7 separate regions of the Homo sapiens genome follow, and all the other regions are linked to region 1. The links are contacts of gene promoters, found by promoter capture Hi-C in blood cells and fetal thymus (Javierre and others, 2016). All regions are on one chromosome and are shown on one strand. Each heading gives the region's core, a stretch centred on a gene start or on the middle of the fragment in contact. The rest is flanking DNA. Distances are from core to core; before and after follow the strand shown.

What was found. The method cuts DNA at HindIII sites, captures the fragments that hold promoters and counts their contacts. A CHiCAGO score of 5 or more calls a contact.
Region 2: a fragment that was not itself captured here is called in contact with the fragment with the promoter of ATG10 in region 1 in 14 of 17 cell types (total B cells, fetal thymus, naive CD4 T cells and 11 more); the score reaches 10.9 in total B cells.
Region 3: a fragment that was not itself captured here is called in contact with the fragment with the promoter of ATG10 in region 1 in 14 of 17 cell types (non-activated CD4 T cells, fetal thymus, naive CD4 T cells and 11 more); the score reaches 11.4 in non-activated CD4 T cells.
Region 4: a contact is called between a fragment that was not itself captured here and the fragment with the promoter of ATG10 in region 1, in 5 of 17 cell types (naive B cells, naive CD8 T cells, naive CD4 T cells and 2 more). The highest score is 7.3, in naive B cells.
Region 5: a fragment that was not itself captured here is called in contact with the fragment with the promoter of ATG10 in region 1 in 1 of 17 cell types (total B cells); the score reaches 5.0 in total B cells.
Region 6: a fragment that was not itself captured here is called in contact with the fragment with the promoter of ATG10 in region 1 in 3 of 17 cell types (non-activated CD4 T cells, total B cells and fetal thymus); the score reaches 6.1 in non-activated CD4 T cells.
Region 7: a contact is called between a fragment that was not itself captured here and the fragment with the promoter of ATG10 in region 1, in 1 of 17 cell types (total CD8 T cells). The highest score is 5.3, in total CD8 T cells.

The regions. Positions count from the first base shown.
Region 1 is chr5:81,970,430-81,973,513 of GRCh38, forward strand. It overlaps ATG10 (autophagy related 10), which reads left to right and starts at 1,594. Exons shown (of 8, transcript NM_031482.5): 1 at 1,594-1,877. RefSeq lists enhancers at 1,127-1,684, 1,685-2,240 and silencers at 1,255-1,584, 1,755-1,994. The HindIII fragment of the contact is 10,147 bases long and covers 1-3,084 here.
Region 2 is chr5:81,491,220-81,494,303 of GRCh38, forward strand. All of the region lies in intron 5 of SSBP2 (single stranded DNA binding protein 2), which reads right to left. Among named protein-coding and RNA genes, the nearest start is that of ACOT12, 99 kb to the left of the region's middle. The HindIII fragment of the contact is 3,239 bases long and covers 1-3,052 here.
Region 3 is chr5:81,508,310-81,511,393 of GRCh38, forward strand. All of the region lies in intron 5 of SSBP2 (single stranded DNA binding protein 2), which reads right to left. Among named protein-coding and RNA genes, the nearest start is that of ACOT12, 120 kb to the left of the region's middle. The HindIII fragment of the contact is 2,025 bases long and covers 657-2,681 here.
Region 4 is chr5:81,557,698-81,560,781 of GRCh38, forward strand. All of the region lies in intron 4 of SSBP2 (single stranded DNA binding protein 2), which reads right to left. Among named protein-coding and RNA genes, the nearest start is that of ACOT12, 170 kb to the left of the region's middle. The HindIII fragment of the contact is 1,228 bases long and covers 1,003-2,230 here.
Region 5 is chr5:81,580,024-81,583,107 of GRCh38, forward strand. All of the region lies in intron 4 of SSBP2 (single stranded DNA binding protein 2), which reads right to left. Among named protein-coding and RNA genes, the nearest start is that of SSBP2, 170 kb to the right of the region's middle. The HindIII fragment of the contact is 788 bases long and covers 1,120-1,907 here.
Region 6 is chr5:81,625,107-81,628,190 of GRCh38, forward strand. The region is part of intron 3 of SSBP2 (single stranded DNA binding protein 2); the gene reads right to left. Among named protein-coding and RNA genes, the nearest start is that of SSBP2, 120 kb to the right of the region's middle. The HindIII fragment of the contact is 661 bases long and covers 1,284-1,944 here.
Region 7 is chr5:81,700,710-81,703,793 of GRCh38, forward strand. All of the region lies in intron 1 of SSBP2 (single stranded DNA binding protein 2), which reads right to left. Among named protein-coding and RNA genes, the nearest start is that of SSBP2, 49 kb to the right of the region's middle. The HindIII fragment of the contact is 2,232 bases long and covers 294-2,525 here.

The DNA of each region.
Region 1 (3,084 bases), core at 344-2,843:
AGCAGTTTATAGTGTTGTAGGGTAAACACATAAACAGGCCAATATCATTCTTTGCCATGAGGGATATGATGAGAGGAAGTACATGGAGGTTAACTGAGTTATTTCTTTTAGTTTCTTTGTTTTTGGCATGTGAATTATGAAACTTTAAAACACCTCCAGTGCAAAAAAAATTTTTTTTAAATTAACATGGTGGTTGGTGCACTGTGTTTCTAAAATATGGAGTACAATGTAAAGCAATGCATTCTTTTTTTAAAAATTTATTGTTATTTTGAAAAATTTTTGTAGAGATGAGGTCTCACTGCCTTGCCCATAGCTGGTCTTGAACTCCTGGGCTAAAGCGATCCTCCTACCTCGGGCTCCCAAAGTGCTGGGATTACAGGCGTGAGCCACTGCGCCCAGCCGCATTCTTGTTTTCATCTGTGAAATACGTTTTTAAGGTAAATACTTAAAGTTGATGGAGACACCTGGTCTACTTAAGCTCTCATTCAGAACACACTGCCTTGTGCTTTTAAAAAAATTAAATGGATAATCTAAATTGGCAGCTACCAATTAATTTATATCCATAGTTGCTAAAAAATGTTAGTGTAAGTTCATTTTTATTAGTCGCATCATTTTGAGTTTTAAACTATTTCACATGCAGTAAAATTTATACCTCTTATGGGTTTTGTCAAACAGTGGTTTAGTCACCAACACAATCACGGTATAGAAGCTCTCAAGCTCCTTTTCAGTCACCCCCTTCCTCCAGCCCTTTGCCCTGGTCGCCACTGATCAGTATTCTCTCCTTTTAAAAACACTTATTATTTGGAAATAATTATAGACACAGGAAATTGCAAAAATACTACAGCACCTAGAGTCCCGTGTACCTATCACCTAGTTTCCTCCAATGGTGACATCTTACACAACTGTAGTACAAGATCAAAAAACTATGTCATGTAGTTTGAAGGCAGGTTTTCCTTTCACTTCTTCGCCTGCATTTTCTCCTTTCATTTCCAACAAATTTAACTCTGTTGTTAGAAGGAGCAGATGCTAGTTTTCTTTCAGATGTCTGCTATTTCAGTTCGATTACCCCTGTTACTCCTACATTTTTTCTAGTCTTTATCCCCATCGTTTCGCCCCAATTTAATTTTGCTGCTAGTTTTTTTTTTTTCTCCTCTGGGATATGTGCCACAGATGGTACTATTGTCAATATTCGAATTCCTAACTTCTCCCTCCATCCGTAAGTTTTCAAGGGGTAGCCGTGCTTGTGCTTAATTGTGGTGTTTACAGGACTTTTTGTAGCGTAAGCATGCTGGCATGGTTCCCCAACCTCTTAGGGGGATGCTAGTAACCCGCTCCCCCGTCAACGAGCCGCCTTTGTGCTCCGCGGAGGGCACCGCCTGCGTTGGGTTGGAGGTGGGGGTTGGCGGGGGAGAGCTGCCCGCCAGGCGAGGGGCGGGGCCTTGGCGGGGGTGGTCGCGGGCGGCGGGGAGGTCTCGCTTCCCTCCTCTCCACCCGCTCCCAGTCCCGGCCTGGGTCTCAGCCCCGCCCTGCCCAGAGCGCGCGGCCGATCACGTCACCGGCCTGCGCTAGGCGGCCCCCACGGCGCGGGAAGGCGCAGTGCGCACGCTCCGACTCGGCCGTGGCGGACCTGACTGAAGGAGGCCGCGGACCTGACTGAAGGAGGCCACGGCCACTTCTGGTTGGCCTCGGGGCGCGCTGGCTCGGCTCTTCCTCCGCCCTCGAGGCCCCCGCAGTCCCATCATTCAGTTCCGTAGGGTCACCGGCGCGGCAGTGGCCTCGCAGGGCGCTGGGTCCCTCTCCCCAGCTCTCCTCCCCCTGGCCCCGTCGCCCCGCCCTCGCCGGGCTGGGCTGCGGGGTCAGGGGCCGAGCGGAGAGGGGTGAGTATTCCCCACAGCCCTTGCCGGTTGTCTCCTCCCGGCTCTGCTTCCCACACGGTCCTTGCCCCACTCCTAGGACAGGGAGGAAGGGCACGCGCGGGTAGGCGGGAAACAGCCCAGTCCTGAACAAAAGGCCGGGGAAGCGGGTCCCCGCCGGTAACTGCAGGCCTGTGCTGGCCGCCGCGAGCGGGGAAGGGCGAGGACACTCCCTCCTCGGGGACCCGGTCCCCGTCGCGCACACGGTGTCACCAGCACACCTGGCCCAGTACCCAAAGCACCCTCGAAGTGGGTAGTAACTACTTTGTGTTTAAAATCCACATACTGATAGCAAATCTTTGGTTGAAACAGTATTAAATTACTGGGGCTTCCAGTGGCTGAGTCCAACTTAATTTGAAGTTTCAGATTAAGTATCAGGAGGAATAACTTGATATTTAGAGCCAACAGGTCTTTCTTTTTTTTTTAAACCTCCCAAAAAACCTATAAAATCAAGAATTGGCGGGGAGGACCGGAGAATGATAAAGGAATAGTTGACTGATTTATAGAAACTTTTAGTGGCGGTAAAAATTACAAAAGTATTGGAAATAAGGCAAAAGGACAGCATGTTTTTTTCAGAGTCAAAATGGAGCCTAACAGGCCCACCTGAAGATGATTTAGATGTCTAGGGGACTATATTTTGTTTGGCATGATGATATTGATTAGGGCCTAGGCTTTGTAGTTAACATCTTTTTCATTAATGGAGATGCAAATTATTTCTGAGTGGGAGAGAAAAAAATACAGTACTCCTAAAGGTTGTAGTTTTAGTGCCTTGTAGGATATTAGCCATTTTTCTTTTCTTTTTTTTGAGACAGAGTCTTGCTCTGTCGCCCAGGCTGGAGTGCAGTGGCACGATCTCGGCTCACTGCAACCTCTGCCTCTCGGGTTAAAGCAATTCTCCTGCCTCAGCCTCCCGAGTTGCTGGGACTACAGGTGCCCGCCACCACGCTCAGCTAATTTTTGTAAGTTTAGTAGAGACGGGGTTTCACCATATTGGCCAGGCTGGTCCGGAACTCCTGATTTTGTGATCCGCCTGCCTCGGCCTCCCAAAGTACTGGGATCACAGGCGTCAGCCACCGCGCCCGGCCAATATTAACCATTTTTCTGTCTAACCTATCAAACTTACCATCCTTTCTTCAGTGTTTATGCTCAGTTCCTGAAATGCTTTTGAGCA
Region 2 (3,084 bases), core at 183-2,682, 480 kb before region 1:
TATAGTATCAATTTAGTTTTTGAAACATGGAGACATAAAAATAGGTTACTAATAATTTTTGTCTGTAATACAACCACTTTGAAGTAGAATACAAGGTAAAATTATGTGAAAAATATTACTAAATACCAAATGTTGAGATAAATATTTAGAAGTGCCTCACTTGAAACAGAAGAACACTTGAGATCTGCGTGTTGATCTGAATGTAAGAAGATGATACAGTGTTTATTTAGTGGTATATGTAAAAGGAGAATTTTTTTTCCCCAAATGGATGGCATTGTGAATGAGTGTATGTTAATGGAACTGTCTATACCCTCCTACCTGACTGAGGCCCTGTGAAGGAGCTGCTGTGAGGGAGGGTCAGTGTATGTGCTAGCTGGGAACCTGCAGGTTACTACAAAATGAGATCAAGAGAAAGAGACAGATTCTGTTTTTAGTCAATTTATTACTCTTATATGTCCTCCTTTAAGTTCAAATTTGTATGTTTTTTTGGAGGCCAAAAAAAAAGAAATAGAAAACCACTTATAAACTCTAATCTTCACACAATTAAAGCACAAAAAGACAAAACAATCGGTTAATATAGCTAAAAACTACTACTTTTACCTGAAATATAAGATTACTATGGTTAAAGTATTTTTAACACAAAATTAGTGCTGTTATAACATGGCTTAGTATTCAGATTGATCCTTCCCTTATGTTATCTAGATAACCACCTAAGTCCTCAACTGCCTAGTGAATTAGCTTGCGTAGACACAGCAACAGAATCTAAAAGCGTTTGCATACTAGCAACTGAGAATAATCTGCACTAGTATCTGTACTTCACTATTCAGAAGTCAATTTGCTTTCAAATGAAATTCAAAATGTTAACCCCAATTTTAATTATTTTATGGTAAAATGCTAATCTGTCCAAGAGATTATGCTAATATAAATTATATCTATTGACAGACATGTCAGTATTCCCTGCTTTAGCAATCTGAGAAGAATAGGTTCTTCAAGAGTCTTTGGGCTGGGCGAGGTGGCTCATGCCTGTAATCCCAGCACTTTGGGAGGCCGAGGTGGGCAGACCACTTGAGGCCAGGAGTTTGAGACCAGCCTGGGCAACATGACGAAACCCCATCTCTACTAAAAATACAAAAAATTAGCTGGGCTTGGTGGCACACGCCTGTAATCCCAGCTACTTGGGAGGCTGAGGGAGGAGAATCGCTTGAACCCAGGAGGCGGAGGTTGCAGTGAACGGAGATCACGCCACTGCACTTCAGCCTGGGTGACAGAGCAAGACTCTTTCTCAAAACAAAACGAAACAAAAAAACAGGCAGAAAAGAGTGTTTGGCTCTTAAAATGTGTTTACTCTTTATGTTTGGGGCAACATTCTTTTTTTTTTTTAAGTTTGAGTAACAAATACTTGTTTGAAGGTATCATGATGGTGAATCAGTGTTTTAACTGGAAAAAAGCCTTCCCCAGAAAGGATTATTTGTAATGTGTGTGGAAATAACATTTGACTGGGAGTCAAAGACCTGGGTTTTAGTTTCTGTACCTCTATTAATTAGCAGTGTCCCTGAGCTAATCATCTTTCAGGGCTTTAGTTTTCTCAACCTTAAAATGAGAGAGTTAAACCAGGTGACTTCTAAAGTCCCTTTTAAAATAAGGAACCAATGATTCTGTGTTAATTATTTTTAGTATTACATTTAAATATAAAGATTAGTATAATGTAGATAGCTATAAATATTTGAAGTGTGTGTGGGTGAGGCAGGGAGTGGGGATAAAGGCATATGTTCCTAAGGCACAAACCATTTTCATCAAGGAGCTAAAGAAAATTATTACCATGCTTCATAGAGAAAAAGAAAAACCTAAAGATTAAATATCCCACAACACAACAGTCCTCTTTGTTGTGTCAGATTAAAGGTCAATTAGGAGAATAAAAAAGCTACACTTAACAATGAGAAAGTATGGTAGAAATTTGTTCATTCAAAAACATATATATATATTCAAAAACATATATATATCAAAAACATATATATATTTGAATGAACAAAACAGATAGATAGATAGATAGATAGATAGATAGATAGATAGATAGATAGATAGATTAACAGGGTCTTGCTCCATTGTCCAGGCTGGAGTGCAGTGCCATGATCATGGCTCCCTGCAGCCTCAACCTCCCAGGCTCAAGTAATCCTTCCACCTCAGCCTCCTGAGTAGCTGGGACTACAGGTGTGGTACACAACACCACACCTGGGTATTAAAAAAAAAAATTGCAGGCCGGACGTGGTGACTCACACCTGTAATCCCAACACTTTGGGAGGCCAAGGTGGGCGGATCATGACGTCAGCAGTTCAAGGCCATCCTGGCCAACATAGTGAAACCCTATCTCTAGTAAAAAATACAAAAAATTAGCCAGATGTGGTGGCATGTGCCTGTAGTCCCAGCTACTTGGGAGGCTGAGGCAGGAGAATTGCTTGAACCTGGGAGGCCGGGGTTGCAGTGAGCCAAGACCATGCCATTGCATTCCAGCCTGGGTGGCAGGGTGAGACTCCATCTCAAAAAAAAAAATAAAATAAAATTGTAGAGATGGGTGCTCGCTCTGCTGCCCAGGCTGGTCTCAAACTCCTGGGCTCAAGTGATTATCCTGCCTTGACTTCCCAAAGTGCTGGAATTACAGGTATGAACCATCATGTCCTGCTCATCAAATATTTATTAAACACCCACAAAGGCACTGTTCTAAGTGGCTAGATATATCAGTGAACAAGGAAGATAAAAATGACTACCCGCTGATTAGGATTTTTCAAGGTTCACAGTCTTGTAATTAATAGGAGAAACAATTTCTATAAAAATTCTTTTCTACATCAGTCCACTAATCTGAGACAAATAGAATGTTCTCTTCACCAAATGGCGAGTATCAATGAAAACCCAGGGAAAATAATATTTCAATCTGTTGTCTTTCCTCAAAAGTCATATTACATCATCCCTATTTGATAGAACATGTAGTGCTATGAATACTGAAGATCAAGGCTATGCTTTTAAAAAAGTTTCAAAATTAGGAAAAACTCATAAGGTAAGCTTATTTACTTTATAAGAGAAACTGGGTAG
Region 3 (3,084 bases), core at 419-2,918, 460 kb before region 1:
AGTTCCATAGTGTCACTCTGAGGACTTATAGGGTTTCTTATACAAATTACTCATTTGAAAACAGACTCCAAGTAAATAACTACATGTCATACTTTAAATGGCTTTATTTTATTAAATTTATACCTCCTTTTGCATGTCCGACTAGTCTTACTGATTTTACTTAATTGGTTTCCTGCTCAGCAACAGAGGCTCTCTCATTTCAATAAAAACATCAAAGTTTAAGTATGAACAATGTCACAAATAGAAAGACACTAAAGACTGCCTTCCAGAATGGATTTATTAAGTGTACCAAGTTATATCATAATTATTTATTTTAGACTTTAATTCATTGCTATTTTTCAAATGTAGTTGTTATGTATTCACAAGTTCAGTTTGTGATCATTCCACTTGGTAATGAATTTAAGTCTATACTTATCATGGAAGAGGGAGCTTGTTCTGTAACATAAACAGGAAAAAAAGGAGTATGTTTGTCTATTTAGGAGAAATGTTTCAATGTATTTTTTAGAGTATGATCACAAAGTAAGTAGAGCTCAGAAATACTTAGGCGGGGACTTCATTTGCTAATTATAAATTATTCTTCTTTACTTTTACTTATTCACTAATTCTAATAGGCTAAATTCTTTTTCGGTCTAGTCCATTCAAGCTATCTCAAAATAAGCTTTGCATTTACTAAGAATATAAGTTTAAAATATTATCATTATCTAAAAGTCAAAGGCAATAGGAGGTAACCACCCTTCAGAATTTAGTAGTTGCAACCAGGAGAGGCTGGAAAAACTATTTAGCACCCTTTTGACTAAGTCTCTTTTGAACCAGGAATTCCCTAATATCCAAGTCTGGCTTTTTGGAGAATCTGAGTCTTTATCCTAGCCAGCCTTCTGGGCCTTGTTACTTTAAGGAGCCACATCAGCTCTTTTCCAGTTGCTTCCATTCCTCCTTGCCTTGTACTGAACTAATAATCAGGATTGTGCCTGATCTTGGGTATTAGAGTTTATGAACTGTGAACTGATACTCCAACACAGGTTCTCCAGATTTGGATCATTCTTGAAGGTCAACATCTCTTTGGAACTAGATTAGAAACTGGGGTGTGAACTTGAATTATGATTGTCTGCTGCTATTTCTACCCATGGAAAGCAGCTACTCCTCATTAACTATATGTATTTTGACATTATGACCAGAATCACACTAGTTCAGTAACTGCAGGAAACCAATGCTGATATTTAGGACACACTTGAGTCATTTGATCACATCATTATATGTACCAAAAGATAATAATATAATATGTCTTTTTTAAATTTTTGGTACTTTGAGTTTTTTAATATTTTAGAGAGTCATTTATAGGGAGACATATTTAAATGTTGAATAGAGGAAAAAAGTACTTGGGATTAGTTGAAATAGTCTGCCTAGATAAACAGAAATGACTTGTGTATCAAATTCAAATATATCTGAAAGTTTTTCAATCTCCTGTCTTTCATTACTCAGATAAAGACACTAAACTTATCCAGAGACCCAAAGTAGAAATCTCAGAATCATCCTTGATTCTTCTCTTTCTCTTCTACCTTAACTTTGGTTAATTAAGGCCTATCAAACATAACTATGAACTGTTTATTCCTTTCTAATTCTACTGCCACTGATCTTGAATCAGTTCAGAAAGTCTCTTCCTTAAGCTGCTATCATAGCCAACCTACTAACACTGCATCTGTAATGGGTTCTTCTTTTGTTCATCTTTTAAATATTAGTGTTTTTTGTAGTTCAGTTGTATATTCTCTTACCCTCTCATTCTGTACTTTCTCCCTGGACAATTCATCTACCCCTGTGGATTCAAGTACCCTTAAAATGATATGGCCCTGCAATTTTTATCTCTAGTTTAGATTACTGTCCTAGACCTCAAACCTAGGACAGGTCTATCAGCTTAACAGATATGTCTAATTGGAGGACTCATGGGAACCTCATCTGTCCCACCTCAAACCTATTCCCCATTTTGTGTTCTCTAGCTTAGAAAATGGTACCTACATCTGCCCAGATTAGAGCCAGAAACTAGAATTATTATCCTTGAATTCCCTTATTTTGCAATATCCTGCATTTATTTCTGTCTCTCAAATCTACTTCTTATCTCCCCATACTTACCATCCCACTATCTTAGTTAAGGCCACCATTAAATTTTACTTGGAGTAGGCTGGGCACAGTGGCTCACGCTTGTAATCCCAGCACTTTGGGAGGCCAAGGCGGGCAGATAATGAAGTCAGGAGTTCAAGACCAGTCTGACCAACAGGGGGAAACCCTGTCTCTACTAAAAATACAAAAATTAGCCGGGCGTGGTGGCACATGCCTGTAATCCCAGCTACTCAGGAGGCTGTGGCAGGAGACTCGCTTGAACCCAGAAGGCGGAGGTTGCGGTGAGCCGAGATCACGCCACTGCACTCAGCCTGGGCAACAACAGCGAAACTCCATCTCAAAAAAAAAAAAAATTCACTTGGAGTACTGTAAAAGACTCCTAAATTCTCTCCCTATCTTCAGACTTGTTCCTCTGCAATTCTGACTACACAATGGAGCTGGAGTGATTTTTCTAAAAATGCAAATATGAACATGTCTGTCTCCTGCTTAAAATCCTCCAGTAGTTTAGTACTGCCTTTAGGATCAAGTTCAAACTCTACTAACCTACAAGGCCCCTGCAGTCCCTCTCAAGCTTCATCACCAGCTACTCTCCCTTTAGCTAATTAAGCTCCAGTTTTTCTTGGTCTCTCTCTCTCTCCTTTTCCCTCTGGATCTCTGTAAATTATTTTCCCTCTTCCTAGAAATTTCTTCCCCTCTCTTCCTTTGCCTAAGTCATAACTCATCCTTAAATGCGAAATTGGATTTCATTTACTATTTTGACAATACTTTCCTAACTATGCACCTCCCAAGATTCGGTTTGGTGGCCTTCTGATTTGCTCTAAGAGCACACTACAGCCATTTTCTTTCTATGCTGTAATGGCCTCTTCTCTCATTCATCACATTGTAGGGCTTCTCGAGGGCAGGGATTTTGTATACAACTCTCTCACAGGTGCCTACCAGAGCCTGAATCCACCGTTTAGTATGAATTCAGGT
Region 4 (3,084 bases), core at 367-2,866, 410 kb before region 1:
TATTCCATATTTCTACCTAACATGTTTCATTATCCTCTAAGTTTTTGAATATATGGAACATTATAACAAGTGTTTTAAAGTATTTTCTAGTTCTAAAATCTATGCCAGTTATAGATTGGTTTTGATTCGTTTTTCTCCTCATTATGGATCATATTTTCCTGCTTCTGTGCAATGTCTGGTAATGTCTGATTGAAATCCAGACATTATGAATTTTACTTTGTTGGGTGCTGGATTTACATTTCTATATATATTCTTGAGCTTTGTTCTGGGACACAGCCAAATTACTTAAAAATTGTTTGAACCTTTTGATTCTTGCTTTTAAGATTTCTTAGATGGCACTCAAGCAGCATGGAGTAAGTATTCCATGTAGCAAGGCCCTTCTAAGTATACTATCCAATACCCTGTGAATTACGAGGTTTTGCATTCCTTCTGCCATATACTGTTACAGTACCCTGTGCTTTCCCTAAATAAAAGCACCTCTCATACTTCATTGAAATCACTTACCTGGTTGTTTTCTCAAAATATACCTCTTTCTCCATACTGTTGCTACATGTCTTAGTCTGGGTGGCTATCACAAATTAACAAAAACTGGGTGGCTTAAACAATAAACATTTATTTCTGTCAGTTCTGGAGGCTATGAAGTCCAAGATCAAGGTGCTGGCAGATCTGGTGTCTGGTGAGGACACACTTCCTGGTTTGCAGATGGCTATCTTCCTATTGTATCCTCACACGACAGAGAACAGAGAGAGATATTTTATATTCCTAACACCTGGTGCAGTCCTGGCACAGTAGGTGCTACTTGAATAAATATGAACATGAATAAATATGAACATTAATAGATGAATGTTGGCAAAATGTAAAATTTTGCATGTCTAAACTAAAGTTGTGTCATCAATGCCTCAAGATGAACTATCCTTTTCCTAACTAACATGACTTGTCTAAACATAGTGGTATTCTTTTATTCTTCAGGAAATCAGAACAACCTGCATGTTTGAATATAAAAGCTTGGTTAAACTTGTATTTTGCTTTCTATCTCTTCTAAGATGTCTTTTACTTTCTTTCCTATCTCTTTGACATAAGGTTCCAGGACAAATTAATTGTCAAAGCAAAAATATTTATCATACAAAAGAGTAGTACTGTCTATATTTACTATGGCTTGTCAGAATAGAACATCTGATCTCTTAAACAGTGTCATAATGCCTAGACTTATCAGAGGAACATCTAAGAAGTATCTTCCTCAGCATGATTAGAAAGATGTTTTTAAAAATTATTTATAGGCCGGGCGCAGTGGCTCACGCCTGTAATCCTACCACTTTGGGAGGCCAAGGTAGGTGGATCACGAGGTCAAGAGATCGAGGCCAGTCTGGCCAACATGGCGAAATCCCATCTCTACTAAAAATACAAAAATTAGCTGGGTGCGGTGCTCACGCCTGTAATCCCAGCACTTTGAGAGGCCAAGGCAGGTGGATCATGAGGTCAGGAGTTCGAGACCAGCCTGACCAACATGGTGAAACCCCATCTCTACTAAAAATACAAAAAATCAGCCGGGCGTGGTGGGCCGTGCCTGTAATCCCAGCTATTCAGGAGGCTGTGTCAGGAGAATTGCTGGAACCCGGGAAGCGGAGGTTGCAGTGAGCCGAGACTGCGCCATTGCACTCCAGCCTGGTTGACAGAGCGAGATTTCATCAAAAAAAAAAAAAAAAAAAAATTAGCTGGGCATGGTGGCACATGCCTGTAGTCCCAGCTATTTGGGAGGCTGAGGCAGGAGAATAACTTGAACCCAGGAGGCTGAGGTTGCACCATGGCGCTCCAGCCTGGCAACAGAGTGAGATTCCATCACAAAAAAGGAAAAAAAATTATTTATAATATTATAAGAAACAAATAATAGAAATGAACTGCAAACCAGTAGCAGGTTTCTACCTTAAATTATGTGAGTTATTGAACTTTATAATTAATTTGCCTTCTTATAAAAGTATCATTTAACCACATTTCTAAAACATATCCTTCATTTTAATACATATGACTACAGTAATAATTTGGTCTTGTACATATTTAAGCCATTTTTATTCCATAAAAATGTCATTACATAAAGCAACTGTCAAAATCTTAAACGTCAAAAAAACTAAAAAAACAGTGATTTAGCATAATATAATCTATTCTGATAGAGTATTACATAAGGCATCAGAAGTCTAGTTTTATTTGTCCATAAGTAATCTAAAATTATTAAATAAGCTTTTAATTTACTTATTAAGCAAAACTATACTGAGTAAATACATAATTTCATTCAATTATTTTGTGATTTCAACATACACAATATAATTCTCACAATCAAAAACTGAAAAATATGATTGCTTCCCCAGAAAAATAAACTTTAACTTAAACTATATTAAATAACAGAATACAACAGAATATCAATTGCGCTGTTTACTATGTGCCACGATTAATTGTATAACACTTCTTACTTGGTTAGGAAAAAAAGAGTCATGCTGCTAGATTCTCATGTCATTTCCAATTTTACAAAAAAGATTGTGTTCAAATTTCAAGAGTATAGGTAACTTTCACTGGTCTTAAAATATCAAGTCCTTCAAATTAACAATCAGAAGCCTTTTTAAAATTTCACTGCATTGCTCTCTATTTAGATAGGAACAGTCCTGTGGCTATAAACTCTGTACTGCCAAAGGGTTGCAGGAAAAAAAAAGAAAAGGTAGTAAGAGCTTAAGCTTTTCATGCCAAAACAAGGAAAAATAATCCTTGGAAGAAGCTCAGAATCAGTTTGTAGGGAAAGTGGGTGTTTTAGCAAGGTACATAGCAGAAGTATTATTTTAGACAGACACGGATAGAAAGCCACCTCAGTGCTTATTTTCCCACCTCTACGCTTTCCTACACCTTATTCTCTTCAGACTCCATCCAGAGAGAAGCAGCTCTGGAACGCCTAAGAATATTCTTAGATTTTGTAAAGGTGCATTTGAAACAGATTAATTTTGAAACTATGTTTCATGTCTAAGTAGTTTTCCTTAAGTATTCTGATTCATAACAATATTTTTTACAGCTTTAAGTATAATTGACAATAAACATTGTATATAT
Region 5 (3,084 bases), core at 264-2,763, 390 kb before region 1:
TTAATGAAACAAACTATTTCAATGGGCCTTGCAGAAAGGTTCCATAAAACAAAAATTACCATCTCCTGGTTTCTGGTTTGAAAATGTGAACTGTGAGGAATGGGAGTGGTTGGTGAAAGGGGCTTTCCTGTAGAATAAAAATTCCTGTATTTCTATTAATTTATGGACTTTAGGAGGCAAACTATTAAGGCAGAACTATAGAAATTATTAACTACTGTTCAAAAAACTTTCAGAGATATCAATCTAACTGTATAGCAATTAGATGGTATTGACCTGTTTGAGAAAAAAACAGGGGTAGTACCCCTGTACTCGTGGGTAGAAGAAACAGAATCACAGTGGTTATATCCTTGACAGTGGAGAATCCATGTTAACTCCAAATTCAACTCAACCAAATGACAACTCAGCCAAAAGATATCCAATATGAATGAAAATAATACTGGTTTTCTATGTTAGTTCTAAGTTTAAACTATAAATCTTAATTTTGGTTGGGAAAAGTCACCCAACCCCGATGTTTATATTCCCAGGTTTTATTGCTTTTATCTGCCTTGTGTTAAAATTATTATTTGACCCTAGTAGATCATTTCTGTATGAAAGAGACATACCTTATTATCAGTCCTCATACAGTCAGGCCTAGTACATTACATTAAGTATATATCTGTTCAATGTCAAGGTACTTATAAGGGAAAACATTTTAACTGGAATATTCCTAAAAAATTTCAGTGTAGGTAAAAAAAAAAAAAATGATTTGCTAATAGAAGGCAAGGACATACAATGACACCATATGTTAACACCAAATGCTGATTTCAAAGTGCTCAGCTTCTAGTTCCACTATGATCCCAGTACCTTATTCTTCAGGCGTAAGATGATTAAAGATAATCTTCAATATAATTATGTTCATTATGGAGGTCTTTAGACCACGAAAAATCTCAGATCTACAATAAAGGAAAAAATATAGGCCAAATACAAAATATTCTGCTTTTCTAATGACAGCATCAAAGAATCCAAGAGAAAGTTACGTAAAAGTGCAGGTTTCATAGGTCAAATAAACAGTCTACTACTCTGGTTCTATAAGCATACTAATGGTCTGGTAACTGATAGGCAACAATTAATTACAATTCAAGCTTTTATTGCCTGCTCTGCCAGGAACATAGAGAAGAAGAACAGTGGGCAAGGTATGCTGTAAGTAAGATCGAGTCCCTTAAGGCCAGAAATGCTAAACTGGGAATAACCATGAGCATATAATCCCTGAGGACATGAAGAATACTAAAGAGGCGACAGGATGGATAGAAGGCTTGAGCGGCATTTGGGTTAAATGTAGAATGGAGGTGTTTGACTAGGTGATCCGAAAAGTCACTGTTAGCTCTAAAAATCTGTTACTTTATACCTTACAATTTTGTGAAGGCTGTATCATGTTAACAGAAACCTGCAGAGCCAAGAGGAAAGATCCAGTAAGAACAAGAATAACTCTAAGTTGAAAAATTCCATTTCAACCTTTTAAAAACAGTAGAGAAAAAATGGTAACTGTTTCTCATAGAAGACAAATGAAAATGTTTTTGCTGGGAGAATCTATCAGTTGTAGCTCCTTATTGCCTAAAATTAAGCATAGTACAATGATTAAAGTATATGAGTTTATGAGATAAAGTGTATTTTATATTTTGCAGAAAAAAACTAGGAAGAATAGTCTTGTTCTCCTAATGGAGGCTCTGTGTTCTGTCTCCTCAAAATTTCCCACTTGACTGTCTCAATTTAAGCAAGGATATGCACAGAAAAATTATATTTAAAAGATGAAAAGGTCACATAATTGCTTCAAAAAGAAATGTCTTGATTGGTTCAAACTTTATTCTAACTATAAATTCTAACCATAATTCTAACTAAAAATATAAAAACATTCAGAAATTTAGATTTAAAGCTTACTATATTAAAAAATATAAAAATGTCCTTATTGATAGTAATCAAATTGTAACTCAGCTAAGTCCTTTTCCTTTCACTCAGTTTTTCAAAAGCCTTTTTAACAAACTGAGCCTTAAAGTAAATAGCTTTTCCCTTGGTATAGAAGCTCAGTTTGTCTAAGTATTAGATTAAAGCTCTGGTTGTTTTGTCTAAGAAAAGCCATCTTTACAAAATAAAAGCATTCATCTTTGTTTGGGGTTGACATCTATGAGCTGCTGTTATTTTTCTCTTTAACGAACTTTAAAGAAATACTAAAAGTAAAATAAATAAAGTATTTAACAAGACTATGTTTTCTTTATTTTTATGAAATTCATGCTTTTAAGAATTCAGGATACAAAGGATGACAGATTTCCATTTTAAAAATTTAAGAAATTACTAGTTCAATAATTATTCTCATAAATTCACAAAAAGAAAGCATTCATTCTCCTGAAAACAGTTCATATTGAACCTAATGCATATGTACTCAATTTTTATATTAGATTTGCTACTACACAGTAAAATTAACTTTATAATATGTACTTTTCATTTATAGAAGATATAATAATGATAAAAATCTGAAGAAAAATCTTCAATAATTGCTGAAACTTGATAGTAAACATAATCAGAGAGATTACTGTCTTCTTTTATTTTTTCTTTTTGAGACGGAGTCTTGCTGCATCACGCAGGATGGAGTGCAGTGGTGCAATCTTGGCTCACTACAAACTCCACCTCCCCAGTTCAAGCAATTTTCTTGCCTCTGCCTCCCGAGTAGCTGGGATTACAGGCGTGCACCACCATGCTCAGCTAATTTTTGTATTTTTAGTAGAGATGGGCTTTCGTCATGTTGGCCAGGCTGATCTCGAACTCCTGACCTCAGGTGACCCACCCACCTCAGCCTCCCAAAGTGCTGGATTACAGGTGTGAGCAACCGCACCTGGCCTTACTGTCTTCTTTTAACATATAGATTTCCTAAAATATAAATAACAGGCCAGGCACAGAGGCTCACATCTGTAATCTCAGCACTTTGGGAGGCCAAGGCAGGAAGATAACTTAAGGCCTGGAATTTGAGACCAGCCTGGGCAACACAGTGAGACCCCATCTTTAACAAATAACATAAAAACAAAAATTAGCCAGGCATGGTGGTATGTACCACCA
Region 6 (3,084 bases), core at 364-2,863, 350 kb before region 1:
ACAAATGCTTTTGGCTGATATTATGACAATGTGATAATTAGTATACAAAAATGTAGACTTATCTCCTAGAGGAAGAAGTAGGACTTTTAGTTTAGGTAAGTTTCATAGCAATACTTGATTTGTGCTTGGGTCGAGGGATTTTTCTGATGTACTTTAGTAAGCTATTCTGATGATCCACTGTACTTGTTCCTTTATCTCCAAGAGGGCCAAGCTCAGAAAATTTTGAACCTCTAAAGATGCAGACTTTGCCCCTCTACAACCTGAGATGCTGGTGACTAAGGAGCTTCTCAGTTCCTCTAATCCTACAACTATTAAACATGAAAGCAAATATTATCCTTGAAATGTAATGGGTTCATCATCATGAATAATACTTTAGAGTTTTATACACTCTTTATTCCCAAGCAGAAACAAGTGAAAATTTTATATTTTACAAATGAAGACACAGACTGAATACAGAGAAGCAAAACTTACAAAGTATTGAAGTCTTTGATCTCATATCATTTATTATTATTAAAATCTTCCCCTCATAAATCAAGAGAAAATACGGCATTCCCAAGTTGAAGATTCTCAACCAAACACTGTATCTCCCTCTATTCCTGAGAATGTAAGTTGAAATGACTTAGGTAGCTTGTTAATATCTCAAGGGAACACAGAAAGCAAAATGGTTGTCAGAGAAGTCTACAAGGGTGAATAAACATGCCAGATGTGTCCCAGAAGATGGAATGCTAACATAATTATACAACTTATGCCACTGGCCAGATCTAGGACTACCCGACAACAAAAATTTTTTAAAAGACAGAACAAAACAATAAAACGCCATGGAAAACATTTTTTCTGAGGAACAAGCCACGTTGTTATAAGCTCAAGTCTTAATAACTAAGGAAGTCATTTGTCTTTGTCCCAAAAATATATCAATGAATGTTAGTTACTGACAATCTCTGTTTAAGAAAACTATCCTATCCATTCATAAGACCAAAAACAGTTTCACATGAAATGTGTATGTACCTGTTCTTCATCTTAGAACTTCCCCATATGTATAACTTGTATTAATATTATTCCCTAGCATTACTTAATACCTTTAAAAATGAAAGCATTAAATTTTGCTTCACTTTTATAAAATTCTCACAATACTCCTGGATTAGAAATCAATTTCTATTTTAAAATATAATGAAGATAGTTACCATTATTGAGTAAGTACTATACAAGCATCATATACGAAGTATCACATATTCAACATCTAATCCTTCTAATTATTATCCCCACTTTGTAGATGAAGGAACTGAAGCTTAGGTTAAATTAGATTAAATAATTTGCCTAAAGTCACACAGTGGCAGAGCTGGGCTTGAGCCTTTTAATTATTACGTTATTTTGTTTCTAACGTGAGTGTGGTTTTAAGAGTTCTTAATGCAAGACTCCTTATTCTGATTATGGGCAGGTTTCTACAGTTCCAGCAGTCTGAGCAGCATCAGCTATTATAAGAGTGGGATGGATATCTGTACCAGATAAGACAGCAAGCACATTGTTAGCCTACCTTTGACCCCATGCACCAACTCATTTCCTGAATATCCTATGGCAACCACCCCCTCACCCTACATGCAGCTGCCAGGGATCCGTGGATGCCTCAATATAGACATGACTCAGAAGAGAAAACTTTTGAGTCCCATTTATATACACTGCCTGGAATTAGCCACTCACAATGCTCAAATGGGAAATGTAATTAATGACTTATTAATAGTGGGACACTGAATTGAGCTCTGTGATTAAGAAATATGTGTTACTGAGATGAGCACTGGTTACAATTCAGGAACTTGAATTCTAACTCTAAATTTGACCTTGGGCAAATAGTTTTTTGATTTATGTAAAAAGAGAAAATAAATGTTATGTATTTTACAGTGTTTTATACAGAGACAAAGAGATGACATACGCAAAAGTAATTTTAAAAGAAGCTTAAAGGTACTAAAAATATTATAGAAAAAGTCTCATATAGCTAGTATAGCGAAATAAAAAGTTTTCTAATTAACTTGAGTAACATTTGCCTCATTTTTCTTTTGAGTCCTTTACATTTAATGAAGATTCCCTCCGTTTTTTACAATGTTCTCTCCCCACCAAATTTTCCTCTGTATTCCACATGCCTTTCCTCTTCTCCCATGCTGAATTTTAGTTTTGTTCTCTATGGCCTATGTTTTTTGCCTTCTCTCTTGCTAACACTTTTTCTCCCTTCTCACTCTTATCAGCCTCCTCCTTCTAGCCCCGTTGTCACCTACACTGTCTTATACGATGCTTAGTTTAACCCAACTCAAATAGTTATTATACCTTGCCTGTTATAGGAAAGACATACCAGATGAGTAAAAACCAGTAAGCCAATTATAAATATTATACCATTCTAGTGAGCTAACTAATGCCATTGCACTTGTTTTCCTGTGGGTATTTGGTTATTCTTAGCTATACCTGATATTATTCATTAGGTTCTAAAATAATTAGAGTGCTAGCATACTACAAGATTGGACTTTCCACCACCAGGTGAAAGAAACAGAATTCTTAGAATAATCTTATATTTTATTTTCTCTACAATGTTATATATATTTGATTTCAGGATATAAATACAGGGGACCAAAGTCACTTTAAAAGGTGCTCTATATTTTTATTTTGTTAAATAAAAATGAGGTATAGGCTGGTTGTGGTGGCTCATGCCTGTAATCCCAGCACTTTGGCAGGCAGAAGCAGAGGCGAGTGAGTCTCGATCCCAGGAGTTTGAGACCAGCCTGAGCAACAACAGCAAAACCTCATCGCTACAAAAAAATATGAAAAAGTAGCTGGGCATGGTGATATGCTCCTTTAGTCCCAGCTACTCAGGAGGCTTAGGTGGGAGGATCACTTAAGCCCGGGAGATGGAGGCTGCAGCGAGCTATGATTGTGCCACTGCACTCCAGCCTGGGTGACCCTGTCTCAAAAAAAGAAAAAAAAAAAAGGTGTACTTGTCTGCTCTCAAGCTGCTAATAAAGACATACCTGAGACTGGGTAATTTATAAAGGAATGAGGTTTAACTGACTCACAGTTCAGCATGGCTGGGGAGGCCTCAGGAAG
Region 7 (3,084 bases), core at 160-2,659, 270 kb before region 1:
AGCACTTGCTTCTTCACTTTGCACTTTTATATTATGGAGACGGGTTCTTTCCTTACACCTCATGAACCAACCTCTGCTAGCTTCAAAATTTTCTTCTGCAACTTCCTTGCCTCCTAGTCTTCACAAACTGAAGAGTTAGGATCTCCCTCTGGATTTGGCTTTGGTTTAAGGGAATGTTGTGGCCATATCTTCTAACCAAACCACTCAAACTTTCTCCGTATTGACCATAAAGCTATTCTACTTTCTTGTCATTTGTGTGTTCACTGGAGTAGCCCTTTTAATTTCCTTTAGGAAGCTTTTCTTTGCATTCAACTTGGCTGTTTGGCACAAGGGGCCTAGCTTTCAGTCTATCTTGGCTTTTGACATGTCTTCTTCATTAGGCTTAATCGTTTCTAGCTTTTGATTTAAAGCAAAAGACATATGATTCTTCCTTTCACTTGAACACTTAGAGGCCATTGTAGGTTATTAATTGGCCTAATTGTAATACTTTCATGTCTCAGAGACAGGAAGAGAGATGGGAAACAGCTGTTTGGTGGAGCAGTGAGAACACACACAACATTTATCAATTATATTCTCCATCTCCTGTGGGTGAGGTTTGTGGCATCCCAAAACAATTTCAACAGTAGCATCAAAGATCACTGATCATAGAACCTCATAATAGATATAATAATAATAAAAAGTTTGAAATAGAAGAAAAATTACCAAAATGTGATGTGGAGACACAAAGTGAGCCCATGTCCTTGGTAAAATAATACCAACAGACTTGCTCTATGCAGGGTGGCCACAAACCTTCAATTTGTAAAAAATAATATTGTCTACTGAGTATAATAAAGTGGAGCACAATAAAACAAGGTGCACCTGTACTATGTGCCAAGCACCATGCTAAATTATCCCACTAAAGATGTCTCAAATAAAATGAGAACATTTTGAGTAGGCTAATTTTATAAGGCCTTTTATTTTAGTTGTACCAAAACAAGCCCTCCAAAATACAAAAGCACTAAAGGAATAGACATCTTTGTCACTTTGTTCCATCCTTGGCACCTAAAGAAACTCCTGGACTGAACATAATTATTTACTTCAGCAACTCTGAGTCTTTGACATTATAATGTACATTATAAATCTCTAAGAAGAGATATAAGTATGCACCATACCATAAACCTATCTGACCTCAGAACCCTGTTAACCAACGATGCCAATTTATTAATACATAGTAGTTAATGAAAAGTTTAGAAAATATTGCATTAATGTTTTCACAGATTATTAAAATGTATGTTTAACTGTATCATTAATAGGGATTATCTGAAACAAAGTTATATGGGACTAATAAGGTACACACTGAAAGAAATCACTATTGTAATTTTTTTAATTAAAAAAAAGATTCGGCCAGGCACGGCAGCTCACGCCTGTAATCCCAGCACTTTGGGAGGCCGAGGCGGGTAGATCACGAGGTCAGGAGATCAAGACCAGCCTGGCCAACATGATGAAACCACGTCTCTACTAAAATACGAAAAATTAGCTGGGCGTGGTGGCGCACACCTGTAGTCCCAGCTACTCAGGAGGCTGAGGCAGGGGAATCGCTTGAACCCAGGAGTCAGAGGTTCCAGTGAGCCAAGATGGTGCCACTGCACTCCAGTCTGGCAACAGAGCGAGACTCCCATCTCAAAAAAACAAACAAACAAACAAACAAATTCTGTAATATTTAGAAGAGGACAAAAGCTATAGATAGAATCTGCCTACTACTCAATCTCACTTATATAAGGGCTCTCATGCAAAGCAATAGAAACAAAATAATGGAAGCTCCAAAATAGGCATCGGAAAATACAAAGTATATGAAACACAATGCCATAAGTTCTGAAAAAATGCAGGAATGCTATTTTTTTTTGAAACTGAACTTCTCAATTTTACACTTTCATCCAGACATTTGAGTGTGAGCTCTCTGCTAGTGCTCAATCCCAATAGAAAGAATCCCTATTTCAGAGAATCCAAATGCCAGTTTAAACTGGGTCCCTACATTTTTCTGTCATTTTATTTTAGGGGGATAAAATTGAGATTTATTTTTGCCACTTTCCACTATGTCCCCCTGAAGAGCTACATAGTATCTTCATTGCCTTTAGCCAGCTAAGAGATCTGTGACCTACACTAAGTTGCCAATCAAGCCTTATATTGAACTACAGCACAGTAAAAGAACTCTGATTTCTCATGCTGTGGCTCAATCTTAATGTACTCAAGCTCCAACAACTGGGAATAAGAGCAGATATTACACACATTCCCCACTATCTACAACAGACAAGTTGGTCATTTTAATGAGGGATTTTTGTCTGTTTTATTCTTTTTATTCCTTTTTGCCCATATCTTATTCAGTATTCTTTGTGTGGTGGCTACTTTGCTAAAGTGGTTCAATATTTAATCAAGGATTAAATGGTAAAGCAGTTTGCCTATTAAATTATAAAAACCTTTAGTGTTTACATAGCCTTTTCTAATTAATTAAATAACTTAATTGAAATTAAAAATTAGATTTTAAAGTAAGCTTTGAGAATACACAAGTTATTTTGAAGATATTCAGCCATGAATACAACATATATCAGTCATGGTATTACAGGACACACAGACAGTGCCAGCAACCCAGGAAGATCTCCAGAGCTCAGGCAGCCTGAGCTACAGTCTGCAGTGCTTGTTAGATGGACACTCAAAATCGGGCATTGGAATAGTGATTCCCTGAGACAGGAAAAGCACATCAGGTTATCCAAGGAGGTCCAGAGGGAATGGGTGCAGCACACCAGCATGGCACATGTATACATATGTAACTAACCTGCACATTGTGCACATGTACCCTAAAACTTAAAGTATAATAATAATAAAATTTAAAAAAAGAAAAAAAAGAAAAAAGTCAAAACAATTATTTTTTAAATTCAGTTGTTTAAATTCAATTCCTCTACTGAGTTTAAATCTTTGTATTTATTTTCCTAATAGATAACACTGGATTTATTAATGTTCACTAATGATTTCCCTTAAAAGAGAAATGCCAAAAACAAGACTAATAAAGTCAATTTATTTTAGATTATCTTTCAGTTTATTTTAAACTAA